2 separate regions of the Homo sapiens genome follow, and region 2 is linked to region 1. The links are contacts of gene promoters, found by promoter capture Hi-C in blood cells and fetal thymus (Javierre and others, 2016). All regions are on one chromosome and are shown on one strand. Each heading gives the region's core, a stretch centred on a gene start or on the middle of the fragment in contact. The rest is flanking DNA. Distances are from core to core; before and after follow the strand shown. Region 1 overlaps LOC124905979 (a long non-coding RNA gene). Region 2 holds the start of ATRAID (all-trans retinoic acid induced differentiation factor).

Region 1 (2,997 bases), core at 354-2,853:
AGGCTATCCACCAGTCTCCCAAAGTGCTAGGATTACAGGTGTGACCCACCACGCCTGGCCTCAAGTCTTTTCTTGATGACAAGTCAACTCCTAGAGGGTGCAAGGAAGGTCTGCTTACCAGCTCCACTCCAATCTCAAATTTCCAGTGCACCTAATTTTCACTTTACCACTACCTGGTCATCTACAATAACTGAATGCACAGTTATTAGTGCAATGTGTGTATATATCACTTCTAGCCCAGTGAGTTCTGCCTCCTTTAAAAATGTTTAAATAAATTAGATCCTTTGTATTTTAAGGTTTCCTTACATTTAAAGCAACACATTCTATCCCTGTGTAGCTTTTTTTAAATTGACTATTTTTTAGAAAAGTCTGATTTACAGCTGCACAGATAGTGCGGAGTTTCCATCTACTCCACACCCGGCCTCCCCTATTACTAACATCCTACATTAGCATGTTAAAATCAGTGAGCCAACACTGATACATTATCATTAATTAAAGTCCATGCCTATTCAGATTTCCTAAGTTTTTATCGAATGTCCCTTTTCTGATCCAGGATCTCCTCCAGGACACCACATTACATTTAGTTGTCATGTCTCCTGAGGCTCTGTGGACTGTGACAGTTTCTCAGACTTCCCTTGTTTTTGATGACCTTGACAAGTTTTGAGAAATATTGTTCAGAGATTTTATAGAATACTCTCTACTGGAATTTGTCTGTTGTTTTTCTAAATGGTTAGGCTGGTGTTAAGAGTTTTTAAAAGGAAGACCATAAAAGCAAGGTGCCGTTTTCCTCACGTCGCATCAAGGGTATATACTATGAAAATGACCTATTACTGATGATGTTGACTTTGATCACCTGGCTAAAGTCGGATCTACCTTTTCAAATTTATATGGTTCCCTTTTATGAGCTAAAAGCTTCTCTTTTTACAGTATGTGACTTCTTTAAGCAACTAAATATGGTTTGTATTGCTATACTAAGTTTTTCCGGTGTTTGCTAGATGATTCTCGCAGTTAGGAATTTTTTGAAATTCAGTATCAGTTGTAAGACTTTTGGCCAGACGTGGTGGCTCACACCTGTAATCCCAGCACTTTGGGAGGCCAAGGTGGGCAGATCACTTGAGGTCAGGAGTTGAAGACCAGCCTGGCTAACATGGTGAAACCCTGTCTCCACTAAAAATACAAAAAAATTATCTGGGTATGGTGGTGCAAACCTGTAATCCCAGCTACCTGGGAGGCTGAGGTGGGAGGATCGCTTGAACCCAGGAGGAAGAGGCTGCAATGAGCGGAGATTGCGCCACTGCACTCCAGCCTGGGTAACAGAGTGAGACTCCGCCTAAAAAAAAAGAAAAAAAAAAAGACTATTTGCCTGTGGGGCACAAAGACACAAAGATAGCAGTAACAAGAAATATTCACATAAATACGAGCTCTTGAGGTTTTATCTGAAATCCTCTTGACTCATGGGTCAAAATTTAAGCTTTAATTTAGGGATTTACACACACACACACACACACACACGCATTTACATGCAGACACACAGAGAGGCTCAGTTTAACTACATAACCAACTTTGTGAAGCCTTTGAATAACAAGTGTCCATTACCTTAAAGCTATTTAAGTCCAAACTTCCAAAATCCAATCTGAAATTCTAGGAAAAGAAAAACAGAGACTAACCAGGTAAAATTAATAAGCAACTGTTAAGAAAGTATAATTTATTATTTTAATGCTATCCAGAAAGCTGTTGAAGCTTTCTATTGATTTACATAACTTCAGATTATGTGAGTTTTATTGAACAAATTGATAAAGCACACATTTTTCCAACTGTGATGCATTTCAGTAGCAATATCCTATACTGCTATCAAAATCCCACATTTGACATCACATTTACAAAAAGCTTTAGCTATTAGCTTTAGTGCAGAAACTCAAATTTTTTTTCCTTTTGGAATATTTCTAGCCATGAAACTCAAATTCTCATTGAAATCATTTATGCAATATCCAAAATTCCTGATTTCACATTCTGCATTAATTTATCACCTCGAGGGGGAAAAAAGATCGCTTCACACTGAAAACAGTTGCTTACAATTATGCATATTTAAATTTCATCATCTGCTCAGTGCCTCTTGCTTTATTGGAATTTTTTTTCTTTTGGATACAGGGTCTGCCACTGTTACCCAGGCTGGAGTGCAGTGGTGCAATCACCTCTCACTGCAGCCCCGACCTTCTGGGCTCAGTCGATCCTCCCGCCTCAGCTTCCAGAGTAGCTGGGACCACAGGCATGCACCATCACTCCCAGCTAATTTTTCAATTTTATAGTAGAGACAGGGTCTCCCTATGTTGCCCAAGCTGGTCTAGAACTCCCATGCTCAAGCGATCCTCCCGCCTTGGCCTCCCAAAGTGTTGGGATTACAGGCGTGAGCCACTATGCCTCATTTTACTGGAATTCTTGATTTTAAAATATCCTCTGGGCCGGGCGCAGTGGCTCATGCCTGTAATCTCAGCACTTTGGGAGGCTGAGACGGGCGGATCACGAGGTCAGGAGTTCCAGACCAGCCTGGCCAACATAGTGAAACCCCGTCTCTACTAAAAATACAAAAATTAGCCAGCCGTGGTGGCACACGCCTGTAGTCCCAGCTACTCAGGAGGCTGAGGTGGGAGAATCGATGGAACCCAGGAGGCGGAGGTTGCAGTGAGCTGAGACCATGCCATTGCACTCCAGCCTAGTGACAGAGTGAACACCGTCTCAAAAAAAAAATCCTCTGAAGTTTTACAGTCTAAGTTTACCCTGAAGAGAGTTATTGTCTTTTGATCAGTCCCCAATGATGCCAAGTTTCAAGACACTGCAGGGGTTAATTTCAGTAAAATAGACTGCCCCCGGGGATAGACTTTGATTCCTTTACTGCTGAGGAATCAGAGCTGCTGGAGAACAACTTCTCTTGGGGAGGACGGTGGGCATTTTGAGTCCTAAAGGGAAGGAAACTTCAGTGGCAGTGCTTTGACGGCCCCT
Region 2 (2,964 bases), core at 394-2,893, 260 kb after region 1:
CATGCCAAGGCACAAACAGCAGATTGTGGGACCCCCCCCCCTTTTTTTTTGGAGACGGAGTCTCGCTCTGTCGCCCAGGCTGGAGTGCAGTGACACGATCTCGGCTCACTGCAACCTCCACCTCCTGGGTTCAAGTGATTCTTCTGCCTCAGCCTCCTGAGTAGCTGGGACTACAGGCATGTGCTACCGCGCCCAGCTAATTTTTTTTTTTTTTTTTTGTATTTTTAGTAGAGACGAGATTTCACCATATTGGCCAGGCTGGTCTCAAAACTCCTGACATGACGATCCACCTGCCTTGGCGGATCGGTGGCCTGGCCACCGCGCCAGGCCAAGTTCAGGTTTTTAAAAGGGGTCCCACATCACTGCCTGTAATCCCAGCACTTTGGGAGGCCGAGGCGGGCAGATCACGAGGTCAGGAGATCGAGACCATCCTGGCTAACACGGTGAAACCCCGTCTCTACTAAAAAATACAAAAAATTAGCCAGGCGTGGTGGCAGGCGCCTGTAGTCCCAGCTACTCGGGAGGTTGAGGCAGGAGAATGGCGTGAACCCGCGAGGCGGAGCTTGCAGTGAGCCGAGATCGCGCCACTGCACTCCAGCCTGGGCGACAGAGCGAGACTCCGTCTCAAAATAAAAATAAAAATAAAAATAAAAACCTGAACTCACTTTGGTCACACACTGCAGTGGATCGCATTGACTCCTACAAAAGGCAATGAGACCACTGCAGGACTAACTGTTCCAAAAAGATTCCCTCAAAATCTGTCCTGGGGCCTATAATTCCTCAAGGTGTGAAAGGCTTTGGGGGCCCTCCTTAAAATGCTAATAGCTACTAACACCTTAGAAAATTTGCCAGCCAGCTAAACGTAAACCTTTCAGGAACTTCCAGGCAGACACCATGGGGGTAATGTGGAAGGGAAGCCTGGCTCGGCTACTCGAGATGATCACTTGGGTCGGCTTTAAGGAGCTTTCTGGCTGGCCCTAACCAACACTGTCGCGCCGGGAGCAGGGATCCCCTGGCGCCCTTCAGTCAGGGCGCTGGCCCACCCTGGGGCAGCAACGCACTCCCTTACCTCCGTGGTTCAGTCAGAGCTAGGAAGGTCCCTTTGTGCTTCCTGAGATCAACATCGCTCCCTTTTCCTGGGAAGGCAAAGAAAATGAGTTAGGGAAGCGTCTATCCCGCTCCTACCTCCTCGCCAGGCTCCGGGACGCTATGCGCTATCAGCATTGAGGTGAAGAGGACTAGGTGCCCGGGGCGATCCAGGCTCGTGTCCTCCCGCTGGAGTTTGAGGTTTGCCCTTCCCTCATCACCCTCACCCTCGTTCTTTCTCGGTTTCCCGCTTCCCTCTACGCGGCGGAGACCACCACCTTACCGCTCGCACTTAAGATCTCAGACCCACGCCGGAGGCCGGCTCGCTCCGCCCCTCCCCGCCCCCTTGTCCCCGCCCCGGCTCAGACGCCGCTCCCCGGTGCCTCTCGGCACCGGCTCACGCTCTCCAGGCCCACCTGCCCGGTCTCCACACGTGGGTAGCCAGAGCCCGGCCGAGAGCCCTGGCCGGGAGCCCGCGGGGGCCCCGCCCCCTGCCCGCCCCCTGCCCGCCCCGCTCGCCGTGCCGCCATGTTTACTGAGGGCGGATGGAGGGGCCCGAGTTTCTGCGAAGCCGCGACCTCGGCGTCCGGACGCGGGGAACACCGGGCTGAGGGAGTCTGCAGTCGGCTCCGGGAAGCCGCGCGGCGACGGGGGAGGCCTTCACTAAAGGGGAAAAGGAAGAGGGGGTCGGCCAGTATCCCCGAAAGAGGGCTAGGGCGCATGAAGACCAGCGCAGAGCTCCACGAGCAGGAAAAGCCCCCAAGCAGCCCCAGGGCGACTGGACCGGGCCGCTTAGGCCACGCCCGGGGAAGAGGGCCTGACGCGCTGCGGGGCGGGGCCGCGGGGCCGGGTCGCGCGAGCAGCGGAGCACCAAGGGAACGGAAAATGGCGCCTCACGACCCGGGTAGTCTTACGACCCTGGTGCCCTGGGCTGCCGCCCTGCTCCTCGCTCTGGGCGTGGAAAGGGCTCTGGCGCTACCCGAGGTACAGAAGCAAGTTTGAGGTCGGGCTGAAGCAGGGTCGCTGGCCAGCCGTGCGTCGCGCTCGCCAGCGGCTCCCCCTTCTCCTCGGCGGGCCTGCGGTTCTGATTTCGTCCCTGACGCTTCCCGACCCTGCCCAGCCAGGTCCTGTTCCCAAGTACTCACGTCGTGCAGGCCTTCGGCGCCCCAGTCCTGCCGACTTTCAAAGACCTGTGAAACTTGATTTCGCCCCTTAATTTTAGAATAACTTTAAGTTCTTTCTACAGACGGGTCCTCTGCCTCTTGTGTAATCTCTCTACGCACGAACGCCATATATCGTGCGGTGGTAGGGCTGTACTTTTGTAATGCTTGATGAGTTCTTTACGTACCTGCGGTCGTTTTACACCGCGCCAAACTAGGGCTGTCAGATTGAGAAGTCTCTGCAGAAAGCATAATAAATAAGTTCGAATAGTGATCTTCAGAGATGAGGACCTTCCCTGTGCGATATCTGGTACTGAAAGTGTCGGGAGCTGATTCGGCGCAGGACTCTGGAGGAAGAGATGGCATCTCCTAGCCTAGCCTGTTACAAGGGTGGGACACGAGCCGTTTATCCATTTATCGGCCCCGTGTTAGAGGAATTCTGGAAACGTGTACTGGCAGTTAATTCTTGATCGCCGTTTGTTCTTTTCTTGGCTTTTCTTTCTGGAGTTCTAATGTTTCTTTCTCTTCTGCAGATATGCACCCAATGTCCAGGGAGCGTGCAAAATTTGTCAAAAGTGGCCTTTTATTGTAAAACGACACGAGAGCTAATGCTGCATGCCCGTTGCTGCCTGAATCAGAAGGGCACCATCTTGGGGTGAGGGGAAGACATCCCTAGATGCTGGATACAGGCCATTCCTTAGCCTGGCTGCTTTTATAC

Evidence for each region. Contacts are between HindIII fragments. The CHiCAGO score rates a contact against its expected background, and 5 or more counts as called.
Region 2: a contact is called between the fragment with the promoter of ATRAID here and a fragment that was not itself captured in region 1, in 1 of 17 cell types (total B cells). The highest score is 6.4, in total B cells.

Annotation. Positions count from the first base shown.
Region 1 is chr2:26,953,694-26,956,690 of GRCh38, forward strand. It overlaps LOC124905979 (a long non-coding RNA gene), which reads right to left. Exons shown (of 3, transcript XR_007086251.1): 2 at 1,597-1,641. Among named protein-coding and RNA genes, the nearest start is that of MAPRE3, 15 kb to the right of the region's middle. The HindIII fragment of the contact is 269 bases long and covers 1,470-1,738 here.
Region 2 is chr2:27,210,398-27,213,361 of GRCh38, forward strand. ATRAID (all-trans retinoic acid induced differentiation factor) reads left to right here and starts at 1,644. Exons shown (of 7, transcript NM_001170795.4): 1 at 1,644-2,070; 2 at 2,780-2,901. The coding sequence starts at 1,972. SLC5A6 (solute carrier family 5 member 6) reads right to left here and starts at 1,871. Exons shown (of 17, transcript NM_021095.4): 1 at 1,623-1,871; 2 at 1,070-1,136. RefSeq lists an enhancer at 1-525 and silencers at 1,308-1,627, 1,818-2,067. The HindIII fragment of the contact is 10,416 bases long and covers 1-2,964 here.